Regions from separate parts of the Homo sapiens genome. Here all the other regions are linked to region 1. Evidence: promoter capture Hi-C in 16 types of primary human blood cells and fetal thymus (Javierre and others, 2016). All regions are on one chromosome and are shown on one strand. Each heading gives the region's core, a stretch centred on a gene start or on the middle of the fragment in contact. The rest is flanking DNA. Distances are from core to core; before and after follow the strand shown.

Region 1 (2,700 bases), core at 76-2,575:
CGTGGCACACCAATTTTTTTAAGTTAAAACTAAATTTACCCTACTGATAATAGGTCTTGAAAAATGCTAACAACAACAAAAAATAAGATAAGCAACATAACTTTACAGTTAATTTCTAATTTTTGCAGCCTAAAAAGGGTCTGGGTAAGAGGCTGTGGGCTTTTTTAACTTATGAGACAATTACACTCATATTTAAGTAAATATGATCGTAACCTACTAAAAGTCAACACAGTAACAGCCCCACTTCATGAATTTTCCTAGGATTAAAGGGAGATTTTGTAAAATAAAGGAGAATTTTATTAGGGACCCGGGGGCAAATTTCTCATGTTTAGTTTCACGCAGCAGGAGTCCTCACAAAGACGCTGATACAATTTAAATGCCAACAATTGGTTTTTCACTAACATCCACATAGTCATTACTGGCCTTTACTAGTAATGGTAAGAGACAGCCCAAACCTACTTCGGGCGGACTGTCCCTTCGTCCCCTCTCCAGGTGAAGTTCACCTGCCACTACCGAAGGGCCGTGGAAAAAGGAGGTAAAGAAACGCTTTTAAAATTAAGACGCTTACAGTTGCTGGACTTAGTCCAAGTGCTGTTCAAGCCTAGAAACGAAAGTGGGAAACAACAGAGGTTTAGGCTTGTAATGATGTCAGCCATTTTAGGTACATTATTTATACTGGGAAGGAAGTGCCAAACTCGGTTGTTGTTGTTGTGCCTGTCGCTGCCGGTCCCCAGATCGAACAAGCCAAGTCCTGGCTGCACGCACGCTCCCCGGACTGCACAAACGACCGGGAATTCGGCACAATTAGCCAATCGTTCCCTCTCCAGGCCTCCCAAGCCCCCGACCCCGCGTCAGGCACCGCTTCCAGCACACGCACTTCCTTACAAAGGAGCTGCGGACCCACAGGAAACGGGAGCGCCGGGCTCTCTCGGGGACTTGTCCCCGCGGCGCGAGCCCCGCGCCCGCCACCTCGGGGCGCACTGCCGCTGCAGTCCGCGCAGCCCTCCCCGGCCGGGCCCAGCACCCGCTTCCTCGACCTCCCCGGGCTCGGACCTTGCAGTCCACCGCGACGGCGTCGGGGGGGATGATGAGCGCCTCCTCGCCGCTCTTGGGCTCGTCCTTCTTGGCCTCCTTCTGGGCCAGAGCGGAGTTGAACGTCACCTTCACCATGGCGCGGCCTGGGGCGCCCTCGAAGGGCGGCGGCGGGCTCGGGGCGCGGGCTGCGGGCTCCCGGCTGCGATTGCAGCCTCTACGGCCGGGCTCCGGGAGCGGCTCCGGGCGGCTGAAGAGGTTCGGGAAGCTCCGCGGCGGCAGAGGCGGCTACTGCGGTAGGGATCTCGCAGCCTCCCAGCTCCCGCGCGAGGGCGGAGACTGCTCGCACATCCCCTGGGAGGCGGGGCGGGGGCGGGGGCGGGGCCAGCGGCCGGGGGTGGGGTGCTGCGCGGGACCCTGCCCTCGCCCCGCAGCTGGGCGCCGGATCCCGGCGCGCCTCGGAGAGGGATGGGTGTCCCTCTGGGCCGCCTGGAATTTCCAGTTCTGAATTCGCTCCCAACCAGGTTACCTCCAGGCCGAGTGCTGCAGGTTTGTAGCGAAATCGAGTGAACTTTCCTGAGTTCGCCGGGTACAAGGGACTAACCTTTGGCAGCACCAGACCGCCGCTTCCCTGTACCCTGTCCCCACCGCGAGCCTAAAGGCCATGGAATTTTTGTGCATCCACATCTTCATTTTCTCACTTATTAGGTAACCGACTCAGTGGAGCACAAACATGTTTAAAGCTCTCTGTCCTTGAGATCTGACTTTATCTTTCACGGACCTCACCCAAGGGCGTTTACCTGGCTCAGACCTGCCTGGTCTTCCTTCCCTCTCTCAGGAGGTCAGGGCCTGTTCTGCCTAGTCCCAGACCAATGTGGAGGAAGCTCTTGGCAGATTTGTATTTCAAACATCTCACACTCGTAAAACGAAATGTTCCACTCTTGTGCGTACTTGGAAAAAAACCACATGCACACTTGGCTGATTTGTGACTCAAAGTACTCGATGACGAGTCCCTTTATTTTTCTGCAAAATGAAAAAATAATTAAGGATAACGCAAAATTCTCATGTTTTGAAGACGTTTCATTTACAACTAATGCGAGGTAGAATACTGGCTCCCGTCGTTACTGCGTTCATTACTGTGTCAACAGACGGCCCCCTTGGACAAATGTGTTATCTTGTATCCTTCCACCCCATTCTGTCCTGGTTCATCCAGAGTTGTGGGTGTGCTCTAGAATGTTACAGCTGTGTCAGCTCTGCCTTGGGCCAACCCTGAAAAAAGTGGGTTCAGTCTGAGATCTTTGGGGATTTGGCCCTGCTCAAGGAGGGAGTTGGGTATTTCCATAGAATGTCAGATCATAAGTCCCAGGGAAACAGCCCAAGATCTCCAAATCCTTCTGTTCATGTATTTCAGAAGCATCCTGGGCTGAGATAGAAACCCAGGCCAGACTTTGAGTTTGCTTTGGGTATTCAGAAATTCCTGTCAAAATGAAATCTGCTCAACCAAGAGGAGGATGAGTTAGGTTCCAGTTCTGGTGAGTTTTAACAGTAGCTAACCATACTTGCAGCAACTTATTTAAACTCCTGGGTCGCCCTTGTGCAGGCATCGGCTCTGTGAGGTTGACTCTATGGACTGGACTTTCATAGTATCTAATGTTATCTAATTCCTCA
Region 2 (2,700 bases), core at 172-2,671, 280 kb before region 1:
GAAGGTGTCCTTTTTAGGGCAAGGTCTTATGATCCAAGTGGCACGTGAGGGAACATGACTAGATTTGGCATCAGGAGAGCTTAGCCCTGGTACAGGCTCTGCCATTAACTCACAGGGTGATGCTGATAGCAGGGACAAGCTGCTTGTCTTCTCTGTTAGTTTCTTTGTGCTGCTGTAACAAATGACTACAATTCAAACAACAGAAATTTCTTTTCTCACAGTTCTGGAGGCTAGAAGTCTGAAATCAAGGCATCATCAGGGCAATGCTCCCTTGATATCTCTCAGGAAGAATCTTCTCAGCTTCTGGTGGTGGCCCCCAGCAATCCTTGCTGCTCCTTGACTTCCAGATGCATTACTGCAGTCCCTGTGTCTGTTGTCATCTGGCCTTCTTCCCTGTGCATCACTGTGTGCCCTCTCGTCTTCTTTTAAGGAGACTAGTCATTGGACGTAGGGTCCACTCTAATCCAGTATGACTCCATCTTAACTCATTACATCTGCAAAGACCCTATTTCCAAACAAAATCACCTTCTGAGGTTCTAGGTGGATTTGGACTTTGGGGGGAAGCCATTCAACCCACTGCAGCTCCTCTCTGGGGTTTCTTCGGGTTTCTCAGAAAACTATCTTTTGAGCTCTTTTTAGCTACAGCATTCAATAGTGCCATGAAGATTATTCAGAAAAGATAGAAACCTGAAAACAAAGCTTTATTTACAAGAAAAAAGCTGGTGGCTCTGCTTGTTTTTGCTTTAGGTCCAGTGGCCATTGGGACAGCTGCTCCGTGCATCCTAGCTTCCCTTTACTGACTGCAAACTTTACTTTGGATACAAGTTAATACTGTTGGCCGTGATCAGAAGGAAACTTAAAAGTTTGAGGACTTAGTAACAAAGTTGTGTTTGATGATATGGCTCAGGTGAAGTAGAAATGGAGAGCTTGGAGCCGAGAGCAGGGATTTGGGGCCCAGTTTTCGGAATGGCTTCCGTGTGAAGGAGTTACAGAGGATGAGATGGAAAGGAGGGCTGTGAATCTGGAAATGAGTCACAGCCATTCATTTACTTGTTCATTAACCAACACAAAGGTAGGTATTGCATTGTTAGCTCCTTTCAAGGGATGGATGACATGGTGGTGAAAGACTCGGTCTCTGTCCTCCTGAAGTGTACTCAGGAGTCTGTGAAGGTGGCCCCAGAGAAATTCATGGTAATGAGGACAGGGGAGGCTTACTAAGTTAATAGTGTGGACTTGAGAAGAGCAGAGTTGCTGACTTGTGCTCTCCTAAGGTGGAAGGGACAAGTAGGTGTTCAGATCTGTAGAAGGTAAGTGGATAGTCCACTCAGTTATACACCAGACCACATTCCCGGTAAGGTTGATTTAATAACTGATGGGAAAGAGAGGCCTTAGAAAATCTTTGTTGCTTTAAATAATGTGTAAGTTTGTTGATGCTGTGGGAAATAGCAGACATGCCATTTGATAGACATATTGGCTGTTTATGTATCTTATTATAACCTACAAAATGTTGGCAAGTTGAAAAGTATATCAATAAAAATGCCTCCTAAGTAGCAAATAGGTAAAACTCTTTCAAACAAATTTATAACTTCCTCTTATAGGAGTGTGGGTGCTCGTGATCTTAATGTATGCTGTTAGGGGGTTAATTGTGACCCTGCAACATTTATGTGTTGAAGTACAGCCAGTACCTCACAGTGCAACTTATTTGGAAATGGGGTCAATGCAGATGTGGTTAGTTAAGATGAGGTCATTAGGGTGGACCTTAATCCAATATAATTGGTGTCCTTATAAAAAGGGGAAATTTAGATGCAGAGATATGCAGGGCATGGGGGGAGATGATGTGAACAGACATAGGGAGAAGACAGCCATCCACAAGCTGAGAAGCACAGCCTGGAAGAGATCCTTCCCTCACAGCCCTCAGAAGGAGCTAGCTAGCTGATACCTTGAGTTTGGACTTCCAGTTTCCAGAACCATAAGACAGTAAATTTCTGTTGGTTAAGCCACCTCGTTTGTCACTACTTTGTTACGGCTGCCTTAACAAACAAGTACACGTGTTTTCTGGGTGTTAATTCCTGTCAACCCCCAAACTTCCTTGAGGGATGAGGAAACCCACCAATTCCTTAAACTGAAGGCCAAGTAAAGCTTGCCCATGAACTAAAACTTCGGACCATTTCCTTGGTGTCACTTTCAGCGTTGTTCTTTACCAAGCATTGTTCTTGACTTAGAGAGCAGATGACATGGCAGCTCTCTCTCTCTCTCTCTCTCTCTGTCTCTCTTGCTTTTACAACCAGCCTAGTTTCCACAGCTACTTTTAAGACATAGCCAATATTTAAAGTATCTGCTGAACATTCAGTTCCCAGAAGCCCAGCTTTGGATGACTCCTGTGTCCTTGAGGACAATGAGTAGGGGAGACCTGGTTCCATCCGGGCCTCCGCTGCTCGATGGCTGTGAGCCGCCCAAAAGCAGCTGGCAGAGGCAATCCCTGCAGCTGCGAGAGGCCTCTCAAAAATGGATGCAGTGTGTTCCTCCCAAAACCAGTGTTCGCCCTCTTCTACAGAACTGAAGGGGCAGAGAAAATTCACTTTTTAATTTGTCATTTCAACATATATTTTTTCCTTTTCAGCCAGTACAGGCTACTCTGTCATCTTTGAAGATGTTAGATGTGGGAAAGTGGCCAATTTTTTCCCTTTGTTCTGAAGAAGA
Region 3 (2,700 bases), core at 25-2,524, 420 kb before region 1:
CAGTGAATTTACAAGAGATTTACATATCTCTCAGCGAATTTACCTTATTTTTAAGGTAAGACTCAAAATAAAGAGAAACCAGCTTACTTAAAAGAATCTGGGATACAATGTTATTCAGGTGATGGTTACCCTAAAAGCCTTGACTTGACCACTACACAATTTATGCAATCTATACGTCTAATAAAATTGCATGTGTAATCCATAAATTTATACAAATTTAAAATACTTTAAAAATAATAATTTGACAAAAGAGAAAAAAGAATCTAGGATGCCTTCAAATACTCTTTAGATGATTGTTTTTCTGTACTAGAGGTACAAACAAGGTACGATGCTGTTTCTACAGCCTCATGGCAGGAGACTTACGTGGGAAATTATCTTTTTTATAATAAATTCTTATTTATATAATGTACAATGTAGGTAATAATGGTGGACTAAATTATTTTAATTTCTCCCAGCTTAATTAATATTTAAACTTCCAGAGTAAACCAGCTCCCTTCCCCTCTTTTCCTCTCTCCTTTTCCATCTCTTTCCCTCCTCTCCCCTCTCCTCTACTTCCCTCCTTTCTCTCCTTTCTTCTGTTCTTTCTATAGTCTGCTTCCTGTACTTTTTTGAAACCTCTCCGTTAAGGACTTTACACTAAAGAGGCAAAAAAAACTCTGCCTCTGGTCCCAGCTCTTCCTAAGGACCCTTCCGACTTTGGAATTTCTTGACTCCAACTCACTGCTTAGACCCTTATCCTGGGCCTCTCGAATAATAACTAGATTTCTTTGTCAAAAGACTGACTGTACTGCCACAAAGTCATCAATCCATTGGAAGAGGTTTTCCTTTAAATTCTGTCAAGATTATATTTTCTCCATGGGTCAATTAATATAAAGAGGTTAATAAAGTTCAACAGAGATAAACATTAGCTGTAACTAATAAAGTCTGCATTCATTGGGTGAATTGATTTATTTACACAATGCCTTTATTCTCAATGGAGTTTATGTGCTAGGTTCTATGCAATGACTCCAATGTCAGAGTCTTGGTCCAATAGAACATACTGTACATAAGTAACTGCAGTACAAAGGAGGCAGTGGCCAATACCCTGAGAAATAAAGAAATACAGTGCTAGGGGTTTCTGACATGGATTTCAAAAAGCTCTCTAGCAACGCTGAGCACCCACAGCAAAATGCTTGCCTTTCTTTGTATTATCCAATTTGGCTGCCGCATTAGCCAGAGTTCATTGGGTAATTGCACAATCCCTTGTGAGGCTTTTATCTTAAAGGCTTACCCTTGGGGAACTAGAGTGCCTCAGATATCTGGTGCACAGAGCAAACTATAGAAAAGCAGAAAGGATCTTTGATTCTGGAGTACACAGGAAATGCTAACGATGCCCAAGGTAACCATCATGTACTCATGTACACAGCAATGAGTACACTGAAAAAATATATCATCTTTCCTCCAAAATGGAGGCTGCTCATGTGATCCCAGGTGGATAGGAGGCAGAGTGATATAATGAATGAAAGCATGTGCTTTTGAGTTAAAAGGGACCTGGGTTTAAGTTTCAACTCTGCCTTTTAGTCTCTTTTATTACTGCAGCCGTCTGAGCTTCAAACTCTCATCTGCCAAAGGAGCACTGGAGTGAGTATTGATGAAAAAAAAATGGATGTTAAGTGATTAACTTGGTGCCCAACACATGTGAAGAGTTCAGTCAGTACTAGCTAACAATCACAATAAGATTTGTGACAATAATGTACAAAACTCAGATAATTAAACAGGAGCCTTCTTTATGGTCAAGTGAAAGAAGATGGGGCCATTTCATCTGGAGAAGAGCCAACCAGAAACACATGAACAATTCTATTTATTTTTATTACACAAGTAGTACACATTCATGGTAAAAAAAAATTACAATGTAATACAAGCTGAAATAAACTTAAATAATGAACTTTACCACCAACCAGACATAGCTAAAATTTTGCATATATGGTTTTTTTATCTTTCTTGAAATATATACAAATATTTTTGAACAAAAATGAGCACACTTATAATGCTGTTTGTATCTTGCTTTTTTCTTATTTCGTGTCATGATCACCTTTCTTTGCCAACTAACAACATCAATGTCATCATTTAACTGGATACAGAATAGCCAATTATATAAACATTATGAAATTTGTTTAACCAATTTCCCACAATAGCTATTATTTAAGTTGTAAGAAAGGACCATGTGCCCTGGGCTCAACCAGATTGGACCAGTTCTGGTTCCACCTGGGAAAGATCCTATGTTCTCTTGGTCTCATCTTTACCATCTTTAAAATAAGAATTACATCCTCCAGTTCTTAAGGCTAGTATGTGGATCAAATGAACTGATGCCTGTAAACATGTTTTGTAAATAGTAAAGTACTATGTGAATGTTTACATTCATTAAAGAAGGTACTAAACAGGTGTTCTCCACTGAGTCAAAACAAGAAGAAATTAGATTAACATGCTGTTGGTCTCATTGGGATGATTCCTAGCCTGTAGCAGGCTGAGTGCAACAGCAAATGCTTCAGTGTGGTTTAGGCGCTGTGGCTCTGTTTTCAGTCCCTGATGGGAGAAACCAGAACGCAGCCCTGGCATAAACTCTATCCACTTTCCTCCTGAGGATATGAGGTCCAGAGAAGGTAAATGCCATGTCTATGTGGCTCCTGAAAGCCAGAGTGAGCCACCTTCTGCCTCCAAATC
Region 4 (2,700 bases), core at 104-2,603, 260 kb before region 1:
CATGGATTTGCACAAAGACTTAGCTTCAAAGGTGTTTACTTCAGCAGTTTATAATTTTGAAAAATCAGAAAAAGGTTAGTGTGAATAGTGGAGGCTTGTTTATAAAATGTTAATATCAAGAAATTATGCAGCTATTCAAGATATATCACTAAGTGAAAAACTTATCCTATTTTTATTTTTTGAAAAAGTATAAATAGCTGAATAAAAAACTAAAATTCATTATCTACATAGAAAAAAAGACTGAAAACTATGCTTAGTGGTTATCATTGAATGGTGGGATTGTGGGTGATTTTTATTTTCTTCTCTTTGCTTATTTTTTTTTAACTTTTACAGTGACCATGTATTGTTATGATAATAAAGAAAGGAAAGAAAACCAATCTTAGAACCAAATCTTTAGGAAACAGGCTGTAACATCTTCGAGTCAGTTTCCTTTTGGTATAAGGATATCCTCTCCTTTGGTCAAAGAAAACAGAGACATTTTAGTAGATGAAAGGTTATAACTTTTTTTCTGTTTACATAAATAATACTATGCTTATTAAAGAAAATTTGTAAAAGACAAAAAGTGAGGAAGGTAATGACTCATCAACCAGAGAACATTAGCACTTTCATATAACAGCTTCTGAGTTTTTGTTTTATGTCACATTATATATTTGTAAATACTTGAAACCTAGATTTTTTTTCACTTAACATTAAAAAAAAAGTACTACCTCAAAACAATGACATTTAACAGCACAGTGAATGTTTTATATCAAGGCAATAACATATTGGGCACTTACAACACAGAATGTTTCATGGTCAGACAAAATCCATGCACTTTTCCTAGTCCATTCTTGAGCATCACAGTGATGAGCCACGGTGATGGAGGGCCATCTCAGATGTCAAGATGGTGGCACGTGGTGTTTGCATCTGAATCAGGCTTCATTTTTAATACTTTTTTATATTCTCTATTTATGTGAATTATTTGTCTGGCTACCTTCCAGCTCTCTGTTTTCTAGAAAGTAAGCTCTTTGAGGCATGGCAGGGACTTTGTTTTGCTCACAACCATATCCCCAGCGCCTAGGACGGTGTCTGACACAGAGTAGGTACCTACTAAATACCCCTTTCATGGATGTTCAGTTTTGCCTATAGAGATGCACTGTTGTACTACAGCCTGTCCAGCTAATTGCTGTACCCTAAATTAGTATAATAGACTATAAGTAAAATAGACTGTATATGTACTTAATGTAAAATACAAGCTTTCGTAAATAAAGAACAGTGCTGTATTTGATTTGCCTGGCTCAAATAAGCAAGAAATGGGCTCTTTCAGCAAATTATTATCCCTCATGCTGGACTGTCACTTAGTACATAATTAATATGAGCCAGGGATTATTCTAAGCACAGTTCATGTTTCATTTACTCCTCAAAACAACCTTATATGACATAGGCATTATTATATTAGATCCAGTTTATAAATGAGAAAACTGAAGCTTGGAAAGATTAAGTAATCTGAGTAAACTAGTAAACTGCAAAACTGGGATACAGTCCAAGATTGGGCACATTTTAAAACCGCATGTTTAACTACAATTCTCCATTGTCCTCAGTATTTTGAAATCAGGAGTATTTATGCATGGATTCAACAAATATTCACTGAGTGCCTGCTACATGCCTGGCACTGCCCTACGCACTGGGGTACTGCAAATGAACAAAACAATCCAAAATCTCTGCTCTCATGGGAATTTCTGGTGAGGGGAGATAGGTGATCAATAAATGAATAGGATATATAGTATGTCAGATGGTGACAAGTGATATGGAAAGAAGTAAGACAGGGAAGACAGCCTAGGGAATGCCATCCTGAGATGAAAGTTGAAATTTTAAATAGAATGGTCAGGGAGGCAAGACATCAGTGAGCAGGTGACTCAAGCAGAGACCTGAAGGAGGTGTGGGTGGTGTGTTCTGGGAAAAGCAAGCCCGGTGTGGAGGGAGCACAGTGGGGAGGGAAGTAGCTGATGAGGCAGGGAGATGGTGCGGTGGAGGTGCACAGTGGCGTGTGTGGGAGGAGGCAGGGCCTGCAGAGTCCATAGGCAAGTTTCAGGAATCAGAGTTCCAAGGTGAGTGGCCATCAGAGGGTTTGGAGAGGAGCAGATATGATGGGCATTTGAAGTAATCCTCCTGCCTCCTGGCTGCTGTGTTGAGGAGGGAGGGAGGGAGGTAGGGAGAGAGAGAGAGGGTGAGAGAGAGAAGAGAAGAGAGAGAGAGAGAGAGAGAGAGAGTGTGTGTGTGTGTGTGTGTGTGTGTGGAGAGAGAGAGAGGGTGAGAGAGAGAAGAGTGTGTGTGTGTGTGTGTGTGTGTGTGTGTGTGTGAAGGAGGGTACTTAGGAGGCTGTATAATCCAGTAAGTGATGATGGTGGATTGGTCCAAGTTATCACCTGTGGGGATGGTAAAAAGTGGTTAAGATTTTGAATACATTTTGAAAGTAGAGCCAACAGGATGTGCGGATGGATTAGATGTGAGGAAAAAAAAGACGACTGAGGAGGTTCTGTCCCTCAGCAGCTGTAAGGATGAAAGTGGCATCTATTGAGATATAGAAGATAGGAGCAACATTTTGGGGGAAATATCAGAAATTTGGTTTTGAATATGAGAAGTATGTGATGTCTATTAGACATCCAAATGGAAATGTCTAATAAGCAAATTGGATAAGCAAGCCTGGAAGTCAGAGAGAAA
Region 5 (2,700 bases), core at 63-2,562, 320 kb before region 1:
ACAGAATATTACAATTAACTTTAGAGTTTGTCATATCAGTTATGCATGCTAAAAATTTAAGGTAACTAGTAAAATAATTAAAATAAAGTGTTGAGGGCCCAAGAAAACTTAATAAATCAAATACACTAGAGAAAAGTGATGGTAATAGGGAAAAGTAAAAACAAAGCATAGTAAATGCAAAACACAAAAAAAGATAGCAGACATGAAACCAAACATGTCAGAACTTACAATAAATATAAATGGGTTAAATTAGCTTTTTAAAAGAAAACTTTTTATAAACTATTTAAAAATTAGCTTTTTATAAGAAAACATTCAAATTATAATGACCCAGAAAAATTGAAAGAAAAAAGAAAAAAAAAGAAAAATATACTAGGCAAATACTATACAAAATGAAGATGATGTAGTTAAAGTAATATCAGATAATAGATACTTTAAGAAAAACTTTGGTTTTAGTGATAAAAAGGATTAAGACTTAGTGACAGAAAAAAACAATTGATCAGTAACAAATAATCTTGAACCCATATGCAATGAACAATATAGTCTTATATGCATATAAAGCAAAAAAAATAGGAGAAATTGTGAAAATCTCATTAGGATGGGTGAAAGAGAAGACAGAAGACAGAAAAAATAAGTCAATATATAGAAAAATTGAATAAAATGATATTAACAAGCTTAATATAAGAATACATGAGGAACTCTTACCAACAATTAAAGTTTGGAGCACCTATAGAGAATTTATAAAAACTGAGCACTCTTCTAGGCCACAAAAGAAGTCTTAAAATACAAATTATCAATAGCATACATAATAAACCGGTCACAAGGCAATAAAATTAGAAACTGAAATTTCAAAGTAGTCTGAAAGAAACAATTACAATTAAATTTGAGATGTGTTTAAACCTGAATGACATTCTATGAGTATTGCATTTTAAAACTTATTAATTACAGATAGTGATACTAAGAGGAAAAATTATAGTTTTAAATGTCTACATTTTTAAGATAGAAAATAGATGAGTTAAATGTTCAATTAAAAGTTAGAAAAAAAGAATGGAGTAAACACCCCAAAATTATAATTATATAAGAAAGTCTAAGTAATTCTCTGACAAGATTGATCAAGAAAAGAAGGCACAAATAAACCATATGAAAAATAAGAGTTTAACATAAAGATCATTAAAACTTAACTAAATACTATGAACAACTTCATGATAAAAAGGGCATTTTTGGTTTAATGTAAGTTATGTAAATTGACTCAAGAAGAAATAAAAAACTTGAATAGGTCTATATCCAAGAGTAATATTTTAAAATATTCAACTGATACAGGATAGACAATGACGAAACCAAAGGACAACTAACAAATCCAAACAGACAATTGCTGAAAAAAACTGGTATTGACTTATCATGGGTACTAGATTACTTTCAACCCACTCATAACTTTTGAAAAAATTAATTCAAAGGTTTACAAAATAAACATACCAAGAAACACTATGCCCAGAAGAGTTTACAAACAAGTTTTACCAAAATTTTAAGGGGCAGGTAACTCTTTTTAATATTAGAAATGTTTCTAATAGAGGCCAGGTGCAGTGGCTCATGCCTGTAATCCTAACACTTTGGTAGGCCAAAACAGGCAGATCACCTGAGGTCAGGAGTTTGAGACCAGCCTCGCCAACATGGTGAAATCTCATCTCTACTAAAAATACAAAAATTAGCTGGGTATGGTGGTGCACACCTGTAGTCCCAGCTACTCGGGAGGCTGAGGCAGGAGAACCGCTTGAACCCAGGAGGCAGAGTTTGCAGTTAGCTGAGATCATGCCACTGCACTCCAGCCTGGGCAACAGAGTGAGCCTCCATCTCAAAAAAGAAAAAAGAAATAAATATTTCTAATGGAAAAGAAGACTCATTTCCCCACTTAGAACCAGGCAAGAAAATATAAGAAGGAAAAATTGAATGTAAGCTTATGTATAAATATAGATGCAAATCCTATAAATAAAATTTTAGCAAACTGAATTCAGCAATGTATGCAAAAATGTTATCATGACTTAGAAGCAGAGAGTAGAATGATGGTACTAGATCCTGGGAAGGATAGTGGGAAGAAGGGATGCCAGAGGTTGGTTAAGGAATCAAAAGTACAGTTAAATAGGAGAAATAAGTTCTAGCATTCTATAGCACTATAGGATGACTATAGTCAACAATAATTTATTGTATATTTTCAAACAGCTAGAAAAGAAGATTTTGAATGTTCCCAACATGAAGAAATAATAAATGTTTGAGGTGATGGAGATGGTAATTACCTTGATTTGATCATTACACATTGTATGCATGTATCAAAATATCACCGTGTACCCCATAAATATGTAAAATTATGAGTCAATTAAAAATAATAATTTAAAAAATTATTATGACTAACCAGTTTATCACAGGAATGTAAGGATAGTTTAAGGCATAAAAATATATTAATATAATTTGCCATATTAAAAAATTTTTTAAATATATGATCATCACAATATATGCCCAATAAAAGCATTTAATAAAATTCAACATTTATTCATGATTTTAAAATAAACAAAAAGAATATTTAATTGAGGAACAGAAGGAAACTTTCTTAAACCATCAAGAACACTTATTAAAAACTTACTACAAATGTCACACTTGGTGGTGAAATGAACTTTAAAAAATTGTGCTCTTAATTCTTAGTGATGTAAAGGG

The links. The method cuts DNA at HindIII sites, captures the fragments that hold promoters and counts their contacts. A CHiCAGO score of 5 or more calls a contact.
Region 2: a fragment that was not itself captured here is called in contact with the fragment with the promoter of ITM2B in region 1 in 1 of 17 cell types (non-activated CD4 T cells); the score reaches 5.8 in non-activated CD4 T cells.
Region 3: a fragment that was not itself captured here is called in contact with the fragment with the promoter of ITM2B in region 1 in 1 of 17 cell types (monocytes); the score reaches 5.0 in monocytes.
Region 4: a fragment that was not itself captured here is called in contact with the fragment with the promoter of ITM2B in region 1 in 2 of 17 cell types (total CD8 T cells and non-activated CD4 T cells); the score reaches 5.6 in total CD8 T cells.
Region 5: a contact is called between a fragment that was not itself captured here and the fragment with the promoter of ITM2B in region 1, in 4 of 17 cell types (total CD4 T cells, non-activated CD4 T cells, total B cells and 1 more). The highest score is 5.9, in total CD4 T cells.

What each region holds. Positions count from the first base shown.
Region 1 is chr13:48,231,831-48,234,530 of GRCh38, reverse strand. It overlaps ITM2B (integral membrane protein 2B), which reads right to left and starts at 1,325. Exons shown (of 6, transcript NM_021999.5): 1 at 1,054-1,325. The coding sequence starts at 1,170. RefSeq lists an enhancer at 117-814 and silencers at 870-1,079, 1,090-1,449. The HindIII fragment of the contact is 15,181 bases long and covers 1-2,700 here.
Region 2 is chr13:48,515,662-48,518,361 of GRCh38, reverse strand. RCBTB2 (RCC1 and BTB domain containing protein 2) reads left to right here. Exons shown (of 15, transcript NM_001268.4): 5 at 2,621-2,700. Among named protein-coding and RNA genes, the nearest start is that of RCBTB2, 16 kb to the left of the region's middle. The HindIII fragment of the contact is 1,440 bases long and covers 702-2,141 here.
Region 3 is chr13:48,655,350-48,658,049 of GRCh38, reverse strand. The region is part of intron 1 of CYSLTR2 (cysteinyl leukotriene receptor 2); the gene reads right to left. Among named protein-coding and RNA genes, the nearest start is that of CYSLTR2, 2.8 kb to the right of the region's middle. The HindIII fragment of the contact is 3,977 bases long and covers 1-2,700 here.
Region 4 is chr13:48,492,865-48,495,564 of GRCh38, reverse strand. All of the region lies in intron 14 of RCBTB2 (RCC1 and BTB domain containing protein 2), which reads left to right. Among named protein-coding and RNA genes, the nearest start is that of RCBTB2, 39 kb to the left of the region's middle. RefSeq lists an enhancer at 2,005-2,084. The HindIII fragment of the contact is 231 bases long and covers 1,238-1,468 here.
Region 5 is chr13:48,553,179-48,555,878 of GRCh38, reverse strand. The region is part of intron 1 of LOC124903174 (a long non-coding RNA gene); the gene reads right to left. Among named protein-coding and RNA genes, the nearest start is that of RCBTB2, 21 kb to the right of the region's middle. The HindIII fragment of the contact is 1,277 bases long and covers 674-1,950 here.